Regions from separate parts of the Homo sapiens genome. Here regions 1, 2, 4 and 5 are each linked to region 3. Evidence: promoter capture Hi-C in 16 types of primary human blood cells and fetal thymus (Javierre and others, 2016). All regions are on one chromosome and are shown on one strand. The core of a region is centred on a gene start or on the middle of the fragment in contact, and the rest is flanking DNA. Distances in the headings are between cores, read along the strand shown. Region 1 overlaps URI1 (URI1 prefoldin like chaperone). Region 2 has its middle 64 kb from the start of CCNE1. Region 3 holds the start of C19orf12 (chromosome 19 open reading frame 12). Region 4 has its middle 30 kb from the start of URI1. Region 5 overlaps VSTM2B-DT (VSTM2B divergent transcript).

What was found. Contacts are between HindIII fragments. The CHiCAGO score rates a contact against its expected background, and 5 or more counts as called.
Region 1: a fragment that was not itself captured here is called in contact with the fragment with the promoter of C19orf12 in region 3 in 7 of 17 cell types (naive CD8 T cells, total CD4 T cells, activated CD4 T cells and 4 more); the score reaches 10.0 in naive CD8 T cells.
Region 2: a fragment that was not itself captured here is called in contact with the fragment with the promoter of C19orf12 in region 3 in 5 of 17 cell types (naive CD8 T cells, naive CD4 T cells, non-activated CD4 T cells and 2 more); the score reaches 7.8 in naive CD8 T cells.
Region 4: a contact is called between a fragment that was not itself captured here and the fragment with the promoter of C19orf12 in region 3, in 2 of 17 cell types (non-activated CD4 T cells and activated CD4 T cells). The highest score is 6.1, in non-activated CD4 T cells.
Region 5: a contact is called between a fragment that was not itself captured here and the fragment with the promoter of C19orf12 in region 3, in 1 of 17 cell types (non-activated CD4 T cells). The highest score is 5.9, in non-activated CD4 T cells.

The regions. Positions count from the first base shown.
Region 1 is chr19:29,957,013-29,960,528 of GRCh38, forward strand. All of the region lies in intron 1 of URI1 (URI1 prefoldin like chaperone), which reads left to right. It also overlaps the pseudogene RPL9P32. Among named protein-coding and RNA genes, the nearest start is that of URI1, 17 kb to the left of the region's middle. The HindIII fragment of the contact is 2,245 bases long and covers 375-2,619 here.
Region 2 is chr19:29,874,319-29,878,223 of GRCh38, forward strand. No RefSeq gene overlaps it. Among named protein-coding and RNA genes, the nearest start is that of CCNE1, 64 kb to the left of the region's middle. The HindIII fragment of the contact is 7,711 bases long and covers 1-3,905 here.
Region 3 is chr19:29,714,011-29,717,624 of GRCh38, forward strand. C19orf12 (chromosome 19 open reading frame 12) reads right to left here and starts at 1,251. Exons shown (of 3, transcript NM_031448.6): 1 at 1,115-1,251. RefSeq lists a silencer at 786-1,575 and enhancers at 1,746-1,845, 2,391-2,610. The HindIII fragment of the contact is 2,629 bases long and covers 1-2,537 here.
Region 4 is chr19:29,910,737-29,914,617 of GRCh38, forward strand. No RefSeq gene overlaps it. Among named protein-coding and RNA genes, the nearest start is that of URI1, 30 kb to the right of the region's middle. The HindIII fragment of the contact is 2,473 bases long and covers 733-3,205 here.
Region 5 is chr19:29,465,278-29,469,286 of GRCh38, forward strand. The region is part of intron 1 of VSTM2B-DT (VSTM2B divergent transcript); the gene reads right to left. Among named protein-coding and RNA genes, the nearest start is that of VSTM2B-DT, 58 kb to the right of the region's middle. The HindIII fragment of the contact is 712 bases long and covers 2,092-2,803 here.

The sequences.
Region 1 (3,516 bases), core at 247-2,746, 240 kb after region 3:
AAGTGGCCCAGAGTAGTCTTTTTAAGAATGCAAATTGGATGATGTCATTTTGTCATTTTCCTGCTTATAATTCTTTTGGATTTATCAGCAGGAAAACCGTAAAAGAAATACAATTTATGTTTTGAAATTTTAAAATGGATTCCAAGTTTCTGTTGACATCTGCAACTTTTCTTCTGTTTTCATGAATGTATTAATCATAAAGTCTATTATATTTTATAAATGCAATATGTCAATCAAATGAAGGTCTGCTTTTATTCCTTCCCCTTGGTTTCTTTATAGCCGCTTTTGTTTTTATAGATTGCCTTGTACCTTGTAATTTTGAACTGGATGCCAGATATTGTAACAAAAAATTCTAGGGATTCTGGAGGGGGTTAAGCTTTCTTTTAGCAGCCAGAGTAATCCTTATGGAGTATGTTGTCTGTTTCATAAATTATGTGATTATTTGTGTGTAGCTCTGTTTCTCTATTCTGTTCCATTGGATTATTTGCCTGTAATTGCACCAGTATCACACTCTTACTATTTTAGCTTTATAATAGGTCTTGATATCTAGTAGTAAAATTCCTCTAGCACTTTGTTCTTCAAGATTGTCTTTACTATTCTGACCCTTTGCTTTTTTGTATATATTTTAGGATCACCTTTCCAATACTCAAAAAATAACATTACTGGGGTTTTGCTTGGAGTGCACTGGATCTAAAGATCGGTTTGAGGAGAATTAAGATGTTTACAATATTAAGTTTTAAAATCTATGAACATGGTATATCAATTTATTTACTTCTATAACTTTTTAGTATTAGCTTTTAAAAGTATATAAATCTTCATGTGTTAGATTTATTTCTAGATACTATTTTTTGTTGCCTTTTGTAATTTACTTGCTATTCATTTTTTTTTTTTTTTTTGCTGGTAACATACTTGATTTTTACATATTGACTTTGTTCTAAAATTTTTTGTTGTTGTTAAAAAATAGAGATGAGTTTGCTGTGTTGGCCAGACTAGTCTCCAACTCCAGGCCTCAAGTGATCCACCCGCCTCTGCTTCCCAAAGTGCTGGGACCACAACAAGTGTGAGCCACCATGCCTGGCCTAAATTTATTTGAATTCTAATTACTTGCCTGTACATTCTGATAGTATCTGTGTAGTTACATACAGGCATGTTGTTTGTAAATACTGACAGTTTTATTCATTCCAGTTCTTAAGTTTTTTTTTATGGTTGTTTGTTTTGTTTTGTTTTTTGCCCTATTGTATGGGCTAGAACCTTTAATATAATGTAAAATAAAAGTTAGGACATTGGGCTTTACATACCAGGAGGGCAGTTTTAAGTATTTCACCATACAGATGTTCGTAGTTGGCTTTTTGTAGCTACTCGTTATGAAAATAAGGACATTTTCTCCTGTTGCTAATTTTATCATTAATGGATGCTGAATTTTATCAAATGTATTTTCTATGTTTCTTGAGATAACAATATGGTAAATTACTTTGATTCTTTAAAAATATTCAAATGCCATTGCATTCCTGCAGCAAACCCATTTGTAGAGGATGTGTTTACCTTGTTGTATATTGCTAGATTAAATTTGATAATATTTTATTAAGGTATTTTGTTCTGTTACATGAGGCAAAATTCTGTAATTCTTTCTTTTCTTTTCTTTTTTCTTTTTTTTTGATTAACTCTACCAGGGTGCTGCGGCTCACACCTGTAATCCCAGCACTTTGGGAAGCTGAGGTGGGCGGATCACGTGAGGTCAGGGGTTTGAGATCAGCCTGGCCAACATGGTGAAACCCCATCTCTACAAAAAATACAAAAATAAGCTGGGTGTGGTGGCGGGGGCCTGTAATCCCAGCTACTCGGAAGGTTGAGGCATGAGAATTGCTTGAACCCGGGAGGTGGAGGTTGCAGTGAGTTGAGATCACGCCACTGCACTCCAGCCTGGGCAAGTGAGACTCCGTCTCAAAAAAAAAACAACAAAAAACATTAACACTACCTTAAACCTATGATTTTCTTTTCTTGTAATGTCGACGTAAGGATTTGGCTTCAGAATTAGGCTGGTCTCATGAAACAACTCCCATTTTTGTATATCCTATAAAAGTTTATACACTGTTGTTATTGGTTTTTGTGTGTGTGTTTTGTTTTTGTTTTTTTGAAACAGAATCTCGCTCTCATCCAGGCTGGAGTGCAGTGGCCAATCCTGGCTCATTGCATCCTGGAACTCCCAGGCTCAGGTGATCCTCTCGCCTCAGTCTCCCCGAGTAGCTGGGGCTATAGGAATGCGCCACCATGCCTGGCTAATTTTTCTGTATTTTTTGTAGAGACAGAGTCTCACTATGTTGCCCAGGCTGGTCTTGAACTTCTGGGATCAAGCTATCCATCTGCCTTGGCTTCCCAAAATGATGGACTACAGGCTAGTCAGCCACTGTGCCTGGCTCGTACTGTTTCTAACTTAAATGTTTGGAAGAGTTCATCAACAAAGCCGTCTGGGCCCAATATTTTTCTTGGACATTTTGTATGGAGATTTTAAGATACGACCTCAATTTCTTTGAAAGTTCAAAGACTATCCAGATTTTCTGTTTCTAGTTATATCATTTTAGAAAATGTGATTTTCAAGGAATTGTCCTTTCTAAGTTTTCAAGCTTGTTGTCCCTCCGAGTTATCATAATATCCTGTTATCTTTTTATTATCAGTAGATTTGGTGGTGATGTCCTCTTTTTAATTACTGTAATTTTTAATTTGTGGGTTTTTTCCTCCCTTGATTTCTCTTCTTAAGGGTTTATCAATTTTATATTTTATATTTTTGCCTTTGATTTTTTTCCTCTTTTCTAAGTCTGCTTTCTACTTTACTGATTTCTTCTCTCTTTTTTCCTGTTTAAGATTTTCCTTTGCCTGTAATTTTTCTAGCCCTTAGAGATGATGGTTGAGGTTACTAATATTAACCTTTCCTTATTATAAGATATGCATTTTGAGCTTTAAATTTTTCTCTTAATCATTGCCTTAGGTACTGCACACATTTTGTATGTCATTTTCCTTATCAGTCATTTAAAAATAGTTTCTAATTTCTATTGTGATTTGCTCATTGACCCATAAATTGGAAATACATTCCTTTTCAAACATTATTTTCTACTTATTTTTCTGTTTCTCTAGTGTGGTCAGAGTACACATTCTGCATAATTGAAATTTAAGTCTTGCCTTTTGACCTAATGTTTTCTTTTTCTTGGTAAATTTTTCATAATTTACTTGGAAAAAAATGTTAATCCTGCAGTTTTTGGGTTCAGTATGTGTCTGTTAGTTCAGGCTGCTTGAATATGTTGTTCCAGTATTTTATGTCCTTGTTAATTTTTTTGTCTGCTAATTCTATCATTTATTGAGATATGTATTAAAATAGTCACTAGGATTATAGATTTATTTTTCTCTCTTTTTTTAACCTTTGCTTTATATATTTTACAGCTATGTTATTCATTGTATACAAATTTAAAATTGTAAAAACTTCCTGGTCAGTTGACCTTTTCACCATTCTGAGATATTTTTATC
Region 2 (3,905 bases), core at 81-2,580, 160 kb after region 3:
CCCAGGCAAGAGCTCGAAGAGTATTAGCTTTTGCTGTTGTAAACCCCATGGGGTGGTCTGCAAACTGCTTCCCATACTCGCTCCGTCATGCCCTGGCTCGGCTCTGACATCACTGGTGTTGGCCATATCGCGGATTTTCTGTTTCCCCCTCTGTAAACTGGGGATGCCAATGCCAGCCCCCACTCCCGGATGAGGTACCTGGTGTACAGATGGCTCGGCCACTCTGCTGACCGTGCCCCCGACATCATTGTTCCCCGGGGTTTTCCCTCTAAGCTCCAAGAGGTTAGTTAATTCTCTGCCAGTGTGCAGAGACTCCCACAGCTGCCCCCAAACCTTGAGGTCTCCCCCCATATCCTCCTGCCTTATAGGCAAGGCCTGTTTCCTGAGCCAAGGGAAGGCGGGTGTCTTTCCTGGGAACCCCCTCCGCACGATCACAGACTAGAGAGTCCAAACCACAGATCATGTTTTCTTTCCAAAAATAGGAGCCCCACTGAGGCAGAAACTTCATTCTTTTAATAAGATGATGGTATGTTTAAGGAAAATAAATATTTCTTTTAAAAAAGAAAAGGCGATTTGGATCCACTCACATGCCAAGCACTGTCCCGGAGACCCAGGCTTGGTGCATGGCTGCGGAGGATTCCAGCAGGCATGCAACTTTAATTACTTCTCAGTGTACCACAGAGGTGGCCTGCAGCACCGGGTGTGACAGCAAGGTATGCCACCAGTAAGGGGGATGTCTCAGCAGCTGCCAGCACTCTGCCTGTGAAAACGCCAGCTCCAATTCAAAGGTATCAAATATTTGCCTAGCTGTTCAACATTTCTTCAAATAATATACTCACGACTAATTCATATCTGGACTCGACGTCTTCATCTCTCCAGGCCTCCCTCCTGGATTAGCGTGTCTTGTCTATTCCGGGAGAAAGTTGTCCTACATTCTAAAAATAGAGCTGGGAGTCTGGACATGGGCATGCACAGTCAGGGGAGGCTTTATTTATTTATCTTAAGGGTTGTCCTCTGAAGACAGCTGCAGCTGAGCCTGGGACTCACTCATCAAATAGCCATTCGCGGCTGGGCGCAGTGGCTCATGCCTAAAATCCCAACACTTTGGGAGACCGAGGTGGGTGGATTACCTGAGGTCAGGAGTTCCAGACCAGCCTGGGCAACATGGTGAAACCCCATCTCTACTAAAAATACAATAATTAGCCGGGCGTGGTGGTGGGCGCCTGTAATCCCAGATACTCAGGAGACTGAGGCAGGGGAATTGCTTGAACCCAGGGGGCAGAGGTTGCAGTGAGCCGAGATTGCACCACTAAACTCCAGCCTGGGTGAAACAGTGAGACTATCTCAAAAACAACAACAACAAAACAAAAACAAACAAATAAAAAAACAACAACAGAAAACAAACAGCCATTCATAGGTACTCAGCAGAGGGCAGGGCCTTCTAAGAAGTCTGTGCTGGCTGCTGCCTTCCAAAAGAGGCCGTGCTCCACTCCAGGGGATGCTCCGTGACCTCTGAAGTGAGGACACCCTCTCAAATCAGAGGCACGGGCCTCTCTCCTCCATAGAGGGGTTCTTCCGTTCCTGGGGATTAAAAGCCCCAAATGCCCCTGTATCATCCAGGACCCATTGGGTGGATTGCTCAATCTGGCCATCCAGGCGGAGTTTTATAAATAACTGTTTGCATGGGGGACCTCAGGAGGAGGAGTGGTACCCTGGGTCTAGTAGCAGTGGGCTGTTCCCATCCCTGGGGCCGCAGGGCTACGTGAGGAGGCGTTCTCTGACGCAGGGCAAGGTGGCTGTGTAGGCAGCACTCCCTGATAGCAGTGGTGACCGAAGAAGGAGGAGGAGCTCAGGGAACCCCCACTCTAGGTGCTCTCCTCTGCCCCCCAGTTTCCTGCTAGGGCCTCCCAGGTCCACCTGCCCAGAAGGCAGAGCGAGGCATCCACAGATAGAGTCTGTGGAGGGGTACACAGAGCCAGTGGAGGAGGGTGAAGGGGGTGTGCAGGGCAGAGGGGAGACTACCAGCTCCTCTCTCTTTTTTGAACCCGCTCCACCTCTCCAGCCTCCTTCTGTGTCTCCTGTGCTAAGTACCATTTCTCTTTCTTTCTCATGTTTCATCACCTCCGTCTCTCATTGACTCTCCTCTCTGTTTTCCTCTTGATATATCCTCCCCACTTCTCTGCTGCAGAAGAGGCGAGGTGAGTACCATTCACCTCTCCCAAGTGGTCCAGTGGCAGTGGGGCCCCCACGCACTCTACACCGTTGTTGTGTTGCTAGAGGAAGGAGAGCAGCTGAGCCCTGGGGACCTGGGGACGGGCTTCATTTGATTCTCTGCTCTTCCTCCTCTGAACTACTCTAAGTGAAGCCAATCAGGATTACTTTCATTTCATCACTTCAAGGACTTCCTCCTCGGAGTCTTTTCATCCTTCTCCTGCCTTGGCCTAGAATTAGGGAGGGGGAGTTAGTCCCCTCCTCTCTTCAGCCCCTCTGGCCAGCATCAAGCCCTTATTGAGAGCTCCAACTGTGCACCCAGCGTCAGAAATGATTTGGGGTGCCTGTGTCCGGAGCATACAGTCCTGACATGGGTGGGGACCCATGATCCATTCATTCAGTCATCGGACAGAATGCATCCAGGGCCACCCTGCTTGGGCTCCGGGCTAGACTTTTTTTTTTTTTTTTTTTTTGAGATGGAGTCTTGCTCTGTCACCCAGGCTGGAGTACAGTGGTGTGATTTCACTGCAACCTCTACCTCCCAGATTCAAGCAACCGATCCTACTACCTCAGGCTCTGGAGTAGTAGGGACTACAGGCATGGGCCACGAGCACCATCCCTGGCTAATTTTTTTTTTTTTTTTTTTTTAGTAGAGATGTGGTTTCACCACATTGGCCAGGGTAGTCTCAAACTCCTGACCTCAAGTGATGCAGCCACCTTGGTCTCCCAAAGTGCTGGGATTACAGGTGTGAGCCACTGGGCCCAGCTTTTTTTTTTTTTTTTTGAGACAGCCTTGCTCTGTCACCCAGGTTGGAGTACAGTGGCACTATCATGGCTCACTGCAGCCTCTAACTTCTGGACTCAAAAGATCCTCCTACCTCAGCCTCCTAAATAGCTAGGATTATAGGCATGCACCACCACACCCACTAATTGTTTTTTTTTTCCTTTTAATTTTTGTTGTTGTTTTGTTTTTTGTTTTTAGGCAGAGTCTTGCTCTGCCACCCAGGCTGAAGTGCAGTGGCATGATCTCAGGTCACTGCAACCTCTGCCTCCCGGGTTCAAGTGATTCTTGTGCCTCAGCCTCTCAAGTAGCTGGGATTAGATTTCGCACCACCATGCCTGGCTCATTTTTGTACTTTTAGTGGAGATGGGGTTTTCCCATGCTGGCCATGCTAGTCTCAAACTTCTGGCTTCAAACGATCCGTTGGCCTCAGCCTCCCAAAGTGCTGGGATTACAGGTGTGAGCCACCGTGCCCAGCCAATCTCTGGCCCTGATAGAGCAGATAGGGAAGGTGTGTAGCACAGTGGATCAGTAGATAAGCCCATCCAAGCCTCAGTCTCCTCTTCTCTTAAATGGGGATGAGAATCCCTACTCACAGGTTTGTGTGAAGGTAATATGACCTCACAGAGGGTTGCTTTCTTATTAAGTGGCAGGGACTTCTGCTCTGCCCCTGAAGCCCCCAAATACACATAAAAGGTGTAACCTCAGATGCAAGTAAGGAGGCACCACCAAGAGGGTAGAGGATACAGACCTGAAACACAAGGAGGAGATTGGCACCTCAGCTGGAACAGATGGGCTTGAGCCCCCGAATTCTGCTCGGGTTTTAAATTGAATAAAATAATCCCCAGAATGAATATCCCCTCTGTGAAGCACGTCCACTGTGAGGAAACCCCTAGTAACAGATCTCACCATG
Region 3 (3,614 bases), core at 1-2,500:
TCTCTTTCCCTCTCCCCTTCCTTCCTGCTTTTTGTTGTTGCTGGTGTTGTTGTTGTTTTTTCCAGAAACGCAGTCTCCCTGTGTTGCCTAGGCTGGTCGGGAACTGGCCTCAAGCAATTCTTCCGCCTCGGCCTCCCGAGTAGCTGGAACTACAGGTGCTATTCCAAGATGGTGAAACCCCGTCTCTACTAAAAAATACAAAAATTGGTCGGGGTGGCTCACGTCTGTAATCCCAGCATTGCAGAAGGCTGAGGCAGGTGGATCGCAAGGTCAGGAGTTTGAGATTAGCCTGGCCGATATGGTGAAACTCCGTCTCTACTAAAAATACAAAAAAATTAGCCAGGCTTGGTGGTGTCGCCTGTAATCCCAGCTACTAGGGAGGCTGAGGCAGGGGAATTGCTTGAACGAGGGAGGTGGAGGTTGCAGTGAGCCGAGATCGCGCCATTGCACTCCAGCCTGGACAACAGAGCAAGACTGTCTAAACAAAAGCTCAACAAACTACCTGCCATCCCCAAAACTAATCTCACCTCCTAAAGCATTAACGACCCTTCCTGACCAAATCTAAACTAGCGCCCAGATTTTCTTCCCATATGGCTCAGCCCAGCTCCGCTGCCCCACAGGTGTCCTGTCAGGATCCGCTTCACATTTATAATACCTAGCACCCCACCCCCAGCCCCGCCCCTGCCCCACCAGCCACCCCCACTCTACCCCACCCCTACCCATCACATTCCGCACCCCACCCCCGCCAAACCCACATCCCCACCCCACCCAACCTCACCCACTCCCACCACATCCACCACCCGCACCCCACCCCCACCCACCACACCCATGCCTACGCCACTCCTGGGTGACAGCGAGCCAGGGCCCGGGACTCTAGTCCCAGCTCTGCTGCTTACTTGTGTGACTTCAGCCTCTCCATGCCTCAGTTTCTCCATAGGGACAATGACTACACTAACAGTGTCCACCCCGGCACCGGGAGGGCCGGGCTCCCGGCAGGGCGGGGACCCTCTCCCCAAGGCACTCCCGGGTCTCCAGGCCTGCTCTTGGGGTGCCCCCTCCTCTCGCGGGGCGCGGCCTGGGAGGCGCCCCGCCCCGGCTCCGGGCGCTCCTTTACCTGGGGGAGCGGAGGTCTACGCGGCGCGCTCGGCGATCAGACGCGGCTGCAGCCCGGGCCTGGCAGGCCCCGGGCTCCCCGCCCAGCTCCCCAGCCCCGCGGAGGGTCGCGCAGGCCTTGGTGGCGGCCCCGGCGCTGGCCCCGCCCTCCGTCCCACCTTCCGGCTGCGCCGGGCCTTCCGGGAAGCCACGCGCCGGGCCAGCTCCTGGCTCCGAGCTGCGCCCGGCCTTAGGGGGAGCCGGGGGTCGCTGCTGGGCACCCCCTCCCCGGTCCTGGCCCACCCCGCCGCTGTCACCGGGGCCCTGGCTTGGGTTGCGGGTGGCGTAAGGAGACGAGGCGCCCGGAGAAGAGTCCTGGGAACCGCAAGGCCGCGCTCCCGCAGGCCCAGCCCTGCCTTTCTCCCACGCGCACGCATGATCACATCCGGGCCCCGCGCACCTGCCTCCAGGACCGCGGGGACCTCCCGGAGACCTCCCTCCCTTTGGCCTGGAGGACCCCTCTCTCCCCGCAGCCTGGGCACAGAAGAGAGCACAGGGGCATCTGGAGGTCAAGGGTGCTGCGTCAGTATTTGGTGAATGTGTGGGCCGGAGCCAGATTTCCTCTGTTCCAGAGCCTGCTCTGGAGCCTCTGGGTCTGGGGGTTGCAAAAGGAGAAGCAGGTTGGGTGGGACTCGTAATCCCAGCTGCCAGTGAGGCTGAGGAGGGAGGATTGCTTGAGCCCAGCAGTTCGAGCGTGGGCAACACAGTGACATCCCATCTCTACAAATAATAATAAAAATTAGGCCGGGTGGGTGAGTCATACCTGTGACCTACAGCATTTTGGGAGGCTGAAGCGGGAGGATTGCTTGAGCCCAGGAGTTCGAGGCTGCAGTGAACTATGATCCCACCACTGCACTTCAACCTGGGTGACAGAGTGAGACCGTCTCTTAAAGAAAGAAAAAAAAGGAAAAGAACTGGCTTTGCTCTTAGGAGTCTTGGATGGGGACCAAAGCTGAGGCAAGGCAGCCTCTTAGGAAGGTGCAAAGGGCATGAGGCTGGGGTTGCAGAACTGCCTGGGAATACTACTTTATTGAGGCCTGTGGAAAGCTGTCCCTACTCTTGTCATGCAAGGTCTGGCCTTGAACCATCTCAAATCCAAAAGTGGCTTCTGGGGGGCTCTATAGAGAATTAATCCTAACAGGAACCCTGCAAAGCAGGCATGGTTGTCACTGCTATATTACAGATGGGAAGCTCTAAACACAGGCTGCTCTGCCCAAGGCCATCCTGGTTAGAAAGTTTCAGGGCCCAAACTCCAGCCTCGGTCTCGGTATCTCAAAGTCTCCGCCTGTGACCAGCACTCTGCCTGCTTTCCAGGGTGCCATGGGCACCCAGAGGACGGACCCTTTTCCATTTTTAAAAGAATGGAACAAACGCTCTTAATACCAAGCTTCCCCAGGCCTTGGCTGGGATAAAACAACCCCATTTATTCCTGAATCGGAGCTTTTGCTTGAGTTTGGGTGACTTTCAAGAGGGAAAGTGAACTGAGGCCAGGGGAACTCAGCTTGCTGCCTTCCTGGGGCCTGAGTGTGGCGCTCCCGTTTCTCTGCGGGCAGCTCCCTCTGGCGGCACATTGCAGAACTGGCCTGCAGACTCCTCCCCCAGAGATAGTGGGGAAGAGGGCCTGTGTAGGGAAAGATGCTGGGAGTGAAAGAAGCTTCAAAGTCCAGGCCCTCCAGAGAAGGCAAGCATGTAAGAGGTTCATGCAGCCCAGCGCGGTGGCTCACACCTGTAATCCCAGCACTTTGGGAGGCCGAGGCGGGCAGATCACCTGAGGCCAGGACTTTGAGACCAGCCTGGGCAACATGGTGAAACCCCATCTCCACTAAACATGGAAAAATGAGCCAGACATGGTTGGTGCAAGCCTGTAGTCCCAGCTACTCGGGAGGTTGAGGCAGGAGAACCGCTTGGACCCGGCAGATGGAGGTTGCAGTGAGCCGAGATCGCGCCATTGCATGCAAATCTGCAACCCATCAGCCTCCTGGGCCTCATTCTGATACGAATGCAGGCATAACATGACCGCACACTCTGAACCCCAGAGATGGAGCACACAGTGCCTCATGCTCCTAAAGGCAACTGCGGCCTCCTGCACAGTGAGCAAGGCGTGCCGTGGGGTCTCGGTGGTGGCGCGGAAATGGCACTGGCCCAGCACACAGCGATGCTTTATGCTGCTTACAGTGACCTAGGGAAAGTTCTTCCACGTCTCCGTGCCTCAGTTTCCTCATCTGGGAAATGGCAACAAGAGTAGTACTTATCCTATAGGGTTGTTCTCAACATAAAAGGAGGTAATATATATGAATCTAGATTATTCTTGTTTACATTACAGAATGTGAAAATGAGCGGCTTCTCCAAAGTCCCATGAGCCTCATGGGCCCAAGGTAGTGGGAAATCCAGTTCTACCCCCACCTTGACAAAACATTCTCTTGCTGATGGGCCCAACAATGCCCTAGGGTGCTAGGTGGTGT
Region 4 (3,881 bases), core at 719-3,218, 200 kb after region 3:
CCTTCCCTCCCTCCGTCCTTCCCACCCTCCCTCCTTCCCTCCCTCCCTTCCTTCCTCCCTCTCTCCTTCTCTCCCTCTCCTGCATCTCTCCCTCTCTCTCCCCTTTCTCTTTCCTTCCTTCCTTCCTCTCTCCCTTCTTTCCTCCCTCCCTCCTTCTCTCCCTCTCCTGCCTCTCTCCCTCTCTCCCCGCTTTTCTCTCCTTCCTTCCTTCCTTTCTTTTCCTTCCTTCCTTCTTCCTTTTCTTTCTTTTCTTTTTCTCTTTCTCTTTCTTTCTTTCTTTCTTTCTTTCTTTCTTTCTTTCTTTCTTTCTTTCTCTCTTTCTTTTTCTTTCTTTCTTTCTCTTTTCTGTCTCTCTCTCTCTCTCTCCCCCACCTTTTTTTTTCAGACAGGGTCTTGCTAAGTTGCCCAGGCTGGTCTCAAACTCCTGGCCTCAAGTGATCCTCCTGCCTTGGCCTCCCAAAGGAGGAATTATTATCACTATTTTGCCTTAGATGTGATAATGGTTGTATTTTTACATACTTATGTTTTGGAGATACCTGCTGAATATTGATGGGTGGAATGATAGAATTTAGGGGATTTGCTTCAAAATAGCTAGGGGAGGCAGTAGGGGGAGGTACAGAAGAAATGAAATTGGCCATGAAGTGACCATTGCTGAGTCCAGATGATGGATACATGGGGGCTCACTATGCTGTTCTACCCTTTTACTTGCTTGAAATTTTTTATAAGAAATAAAGCTTCCCAGGTGGTTCTGATGATCAGCCAGAGCTGGGAACCCCTGGCTTGGCTGATCCGCAGAGGCTGATTCCTAGCTATTATTCTCTGACCTTCCATGTCGCAGAAATTATGATGGTAATCAGAACTGGATCATGTTTCCTCTCTAGTTTGGAGGAGGTCATGAGATACCTTAACAAGAAAAGGGTCTGGGGGACCGGCATGGTGTCTCACACCTGTAATTCCATAGGCCAATGTGGGTGGATCATGAAGTCAGGAGTTTGCGACCAGCCTGACCAACATGGTGAAACCCTGTCTCTACTAAAAATACAAAAATTAGCTGGGCATGGTGGCACTCACCTGTAATCCCAGCTACTCAGGAGGCTGAGGCAGGAGAATCCCTTGAACCCGAGAGGCAGAGGTTGCAGTGAGCTGAGATCGCGCCACTGCACTCCAGCCTGGCAACAGAGCAAGACTCTGTCTCAAAAAAAAACATAAAAAAAAGAAAAAAAAGGGTCTGAAGGGTCTGGGGAAAGGTCCCCTGACAAATCAGTTCATCCAGGACATGAACTGACCTGCAATCCGCTCGGAATAGGATGTCGGATCAAAATTGTCTTGTTCCTTAGAGAAATAGCCTCCTTTCCCATAAAAAGACAGGAGGAGATCTATCTTTATTTATTTATTTGTTTTTAAAAACAGAGTCTCACTCTTTGTCCGGGCTGGAGTGCAGTGACAAGATCATAGCTCACCGTAACCTCCAAGTACTGGGCTTAAGTGATCCTCCTGCCTCAGCCTTCCAAGTATTCTTGACTACAGGCATGCATCACCACTCCAGGCTAATTTTTAATTTTTTTTGTAGAGAGATGGGGTCTTGCAACTTTGCCCAGGCTGATCTTGAACTCCTGGCCTGAAGTGATCCTCCCACCTCAGCCTCCCAAAGCACTGGGATTACAGGTGTGAACCTTCACGCCCAGCTTTCTATCTTTATTTTGAAAAGTAAAATAAATACAAATTATTAGTTCATTGATTTATTGAACTAATTATTTATTGGATTGCTACTGTATGCCAGGCACTCTGCCAAGCTCTATCGAAGTTCTCAAAGTTTAATTTGGGGCCTGGCATGGTGGCTTACACCTGTAATCCCAGCACTTTGGGAGGCAGAAGTGGGTGGATCACTTGCAGTCAGGAGTTCGAGACCAGCCTGGCCAACAAGGTGAAACCTGATCTCTACTAAAAATACAAAAATTAGCTAGGCGTGGTGGCACATGCCTGTAGCCCCAGCTACTTGGGACACTGAGGCACGAGAATCACTTGAACGTGGGAGGTGGAGGTTGCAGTGAGCCGAGATCGCACTTCAGCCTGGGTGACAGAGTGAGACTCTGTCTCAAAAAAAGAAAAAAAAAAGTTGAATCTGTAGACCTCTGGGATCCCAGAGATTCTTTCAAGGGGTCTACAAGGTAAAAACCATTTTACAATTTATATTTATTTACGATAATACTAAGATGTCATTTACCTTTTATTTTGGTATTTGCACAGATGGTATAAAACCAACAGCGAGTAATACTGCTTGTACTTGACGTTAATTTGTCAGTGGCACTGACTGTACTAGAACTCATTGTATTCTTCACCACTCACAGTTTATTTATTTATTTTTACTTTTTATTGATTTTTATGTTTTGAGATAGAATCTCCCTCTGTCACCCAGGCTGGAGTGCAGCAGCACAATCATGGCTCACCACAGCCCCAATTGCTCAGGCTCAAGCAATCCTCCCACCTCAGCCTCCCGAGTAGCTGGGAATACAAGTGTGCGCCACCACAACCGGCTAACTTATTTTATTTTATTTATTTATTTATGACAGAGTCTTGCTCTGTGGCCCAGGCTGGAGTACAGTGGTGCAATCTCGGCTCACTGCAACCCCCACCTCCCGGGTTCAAGCGATTCTCCTGCCTCAGCTTCCCTAGTAGCTGGGACTACAGGCATGGGCCACCATGCCTGGCTAATATTTGTATTTTTATTAGAGACAGGGTTTCGACATGTTACCCAGGCTGGTCTCGAACTCCCGACCTCAGGTGATCTGCTCACCTCAGCCTCCCTAAGTGCTGGGATTACAAGTGTGAGTCTACTCACAGTTTAAAACAATCCACTTTCACTTAAGAATGTTCCTAATGAAGCAGTAAGAATTAGTGTTATTAAATTTGAATTCTCGAGTCCACTTCTGAAGATTGTGACGGAGTGAACACAGAACAGGATTCCGCCACACACTGGGTACAATGGCTTTTCAAGGTGAGACACTGGTGCAGTTGCTTGAGTTGCGAGCTGAACTAGCTGCTTTTTATCATGGCACACTGTTTTACTTGGAAGAAAGTTCTGACACATCAAAGTACAGATATTCAGACTCTGGTATTTGGCAGACATTTTCTCAAAAATGAACAAAATGAGCCTGTCACTTCAAGGGAAACAACTGGCAGTATGTTTTGCCAATGATAAAATTCAAGCTTTCAAGTTGAGCATTAGGATTTTGGGAAAACTTGTTATCTGCCACCAAGAGCTTGACAGCTTCTCAATTTCTTTCTTTCTTTCGTTCTTTCTTTTTTGAGATGGAGTTTCACTCTTGTCGCCCAAGCTGGAGTGCAATAGCAAGGTCTCGGCTCACTGCAACCTCTGCTTCCCGGGTTCAAGCGATTCTTTTGGCTCAGACACCCAGGTGGCTGGGATTATAGGCGCCTGCCACCATGCCCAGCTAATTTTTGTATTTTTAGTAGAGATGGGGTTTCACCATGTTGGCCAGGCTGGTCTCAAACTCCTGACCTCAAGTGACCCACCTGCCTCGGCCTCTCAAAGTGCAGTGCTGGGATTACAGGCATGAGCCACTGTGCTTGGACAGCTTCTCAATATTTAGATACCTTTTAGATGAGATCACTAGTGATATTTTTAAAATGTGATTTTTGATATTGTATAATAAAACTGACATTTGGAAGTTTTGCATAGCTTAGCGAACCAACATTTTCCAAATGACCAATGCGTGATGTTACAAAATCATTCAAAGTGCAAGATGGATATTACCAAGTAATCCTTCTCCCACCTAGGACACAGTAAGGGAGAAACAGCAGTTGTCCCACCCTAGCAAAAGCAGGAAAATTGCAAAAGCAAAGAGCCAGGAAACCTCAAA
Region 5 (4,009 bases), core at 1,198-3,697, 250 kb before region 3:
CATTTGAGAACCACTGACTGTAAAAAAAAAAGACAGACAGTTTATCTTAAGAATAACTGGTGTTCCTAAAGAAAAAAATCCAACAAGTAGAACAAAATATGTATTCAAAGATATAATACAAGAAATTTTCCCTGTATTGAAAAAAATAAATGAACATGCTAAAAACAAAACAAAATAAACAAAATAGCACAATGTGTTTTAGCAACATTTGATACAGAAATTCCAACACAAAGACACAGCCCATCCAATTAAGTTATTAAACTTCAAAGTTAAGAGAGAAATTTTTACATATCTAAGCAGAAAGAGAAAAATCACACACAATGGGAAAATCAGGCAAGACACTGACTTCTCTACAGCAACACTCAGAGCCCGACAAAAAGGTATTAATGTCTGTGTTTGGAGGGAAAGAAAAGGCAGCAAAGAATATTACACCCAGCCAAAGTTATTCATGTATAAAGGCAAGAAGCATCCATTCTGAAATGTTAAATACTTCAGGAAATGTAGAACACAGAAGCCTTTTTCAAGAAAATAAAATGAACTATTCACAATTAAATCCAAGCAATTAACAGATTAGAAATACGTAAAAATAAACATAGGAATTGAGACATTGGGGTAGAAGAAGGAGGAATGAGCAGAGAGTTCACTTAAATATAGATAAACATTAAGTAACTCAGGGAATTATGATGACAGAACAAAGTGTGAAATTAATTAAGCTGGACAAGGTAAAAGTAAAAAAGCTAACAACTCTTGGGAGATAGGATGGTAAAATGACGGGGAGGTGAGTAAATCAACATCTCATCTTTCAAAGAAAGGAGCCAATAGACTAAATTTGAAACTTTTGAGAAAACTCGAAACTTGAAATGAATTTTTTTTTAAAAAAATGACTATAAACTCCTGATGTGTTTCACAATCTCTCTTTTTTGTTTTTAAGGGATTTTCTGGGAAATAAATTTTACATAAAAAAATATGTATTTGAAGTTCACAGTTCCCTCAGTTTCACTTCACTTACATTTTCTTCTATTAAGTAAAATTAAATACTTTATATTTTGAAATAACATCTAGAGATGGTCATTTTTTATAAAGATAAGTATTTGTCCAGGTATCCATGTTACTTTCTATCAGCATACATAGGTGTCTGGAATTATGTTTGCCTAAGTTAGTGAGATTTAGGGTTTTTTAAAAGATTTTCTTCACTGTACATTTTTGCCTCATTTAACGTCTTTATGATATGCATGATTCATTTTTATAAAAGCAATAGAATGATTTCCTTAAGGCAATTATGCCAAGATATTAATTATAGTGATTAATTTCTGGTAGTAAGAATACTGATGGGTTTTTTTTGTTTGGTTTGGTTTTTCATAATGCAACTTAAACTTCAAAAAATATAGTTAGGAAAAATAAGGATGGATAATCATGAAAAAATAGAAGTAAAATCTGTAATTTCTAAATCAGGAGAGGAAAGTGATGAAAGCTTTAGTAATTAAATGTAAATGAGGAAAAGAGTTGAAGAGAAGAAAATAAAATGGTAAAGAAAACATATATCAGACCCTGTTGAAAACAAACAAAAAAAGAAAACATAAAATAAGCAGTAAAAATAAGTTCAAATAGATCATGTCAGCACTTGTAATAAATATAAACAGGTTTAAGTTATAAATTAAAGGACAGAGTCTAACAAATTGGATTTTTCTTAATCTAGTGATATTTTGCTTATAAGAGACACACGAAAATAAATGACCCAGGAAGGTCAAAAATAGAGGAATGGAAAGAATATCGCTGGCACAACAACAACAAAGCAGAATAGCAATATTAGTAGCAGATAAAATCTAACTTAAGGCAAAAAGCATTTATGGAGATAAAGAACTCCATGTAATTATAAAAGGAAAGGACTCACCAAGGAGATATAACAGTCATGAATTTTATGTACCTCACAGCAACATAGCCTCAAAAATGTGTAAAGCAAAACTGACAGAATTTTAAGAAGAAACTGATAAATCTATAATCAGAGTGGGAGATTCTGGCTCACTGTATTGGAAATTGCTCCAGCAGACAAAAATTACTTATAACATAGAAAACTTGTACAACATCGTAGCAAGCTTGGTCTAATAGATATACAAAGAATCCGTCAACAAATACAAAGTGTGCATTATTTTCAAGAAGATAAGGAATACTTACAAATAACAAATCTTGCAACAAAAGTCTCAACAAATTTCAGAAAATCAAATATCAACAAATATTATTCTCAGACCCCAATGCAATTAACTCAGAAATTGACAATTAAAAGACAAAAATATAGAATATTTTAAAATTACACTCCTAAATTACTTGTGTGTTAAAAGTGCAAATTACCGAAACATTAAAATATCAGGGGCTAAAGGAAAACAGGGTTCTACAAAACATAAGTTGTGGAATAAATTCAATACTGTTCTTGATAAATTCATTTACATAAAAAGAGTGAAAATAAATGTTATACAACTCAAGAAGAAGATTAAACTCAAAAAAGGAAAAGGAAGAAAATGATCGTAGTTAAGGACTAGAATGTAAGTAGTTTATTAAGGAAGTACTCCCAGAAGAAACAAGTAAGGAAGTGGGAAAACACAGTAAATACAGAGAAGATTTGTTCTGTCTTACGGCAAAAGAGTTGAGATATACTGTATCTAGCCAGTTACTGGCTACAGGATGTCTGAGGTGGGAAGCATGTAAGCCTCAGGCACCTTTAGCTCTCCATACCAGCAGGTGGCTCCAGTGCCCAACAGCAGTCCTTTGAAGATTGCAAGTGCAAATTTTTAAGAGCAAAATACACGGAAGCTTTGGGAGATGAGCTTACTGAGCTGGTAAATAGAATGCACAGGCATTTAGTAAGGGCATCCAGGGAGGCTACTACAGAATTTTACAGAGGAGGAAAACAAGTACCACCACCAAAGGAAATGTTCAATACAACCAGAAATCACTCATTTTAAAAGAACGAAGTAGATAGATCTCTAGAAAAACAGATGAAGAACAGCAAAACTGCATTTTTCAAAAGGCAATATGTAAGCAGCCAACATTGACTACGCCTAGTACGACATATCTCTCCCACCCATTACAACTAAAAATTCTAGACAAAATACAAAAAGCAACTACCTGGGGGTTTTGAAAAGTTAACAATTCCAGAGCAACCACTAAGAAAAGTGCCAGTAGATTAATTTAAAAGAAATTTAAGAAAAAAAAAGAAGGCAGAAAAGAAAAGAAAAACAAAAGTAGAGAGGACAACAAACAACAATAAAACGTAGACCTAAATCCAAACATATCAATTATTGTGTTAAACGTAAATGACTTAAACATCAAGTAAAAGACAGAGATTATCTATTTGGATTTTCTAAAGACCCACATATCTGCTATACAAATACTTAAGGAAGAAACAGTAACAACTCTATTCAATTTATTTCAGAATATAGAAAAGGAATGAATACTTCCCAACTCATTTTGTAAGAGATGTATTACCTTGATTTCAAAATCCAACGAAGACATTACAAGGATTTTTAGAAGTTAAAAACTACAGATCAATATTTCTCATGAGTGTAGATGCAAAATTATCACCAAAATATTAACAAATTCTAATAATATTATAAAGATAATACACCACGATCACATGAGGTTTACTCTGAGGATGCAAGGTTAGTTTAACCTTGCAATCAATGTATCGTATTAGCAGACTAAAGAAGAAAAACCATGTGATTATCTTAATAGATGCAGAAAAAGCACTTAACAAAAGTTTACCACCATGACTTTTTTTAATACTCAGCAACCTAGGAATTTAAGAGAACTTTCTAAACCTGATTAGGGCCATCCACAAAAGAAACCTACAGCTAACATCAAATTTAATAGTGAAAGATGGAATGCTTCTCCCCTAAAATGAGAAACAAGGCAAAGATATCTACCTTCATCTCTCTTATGCAGCATCATACTGGAAGTCCCAGCTAGTTTGACAAGGCAAGAAAGGGAAATAAAAAGCATACAGATTGCAAAAGAA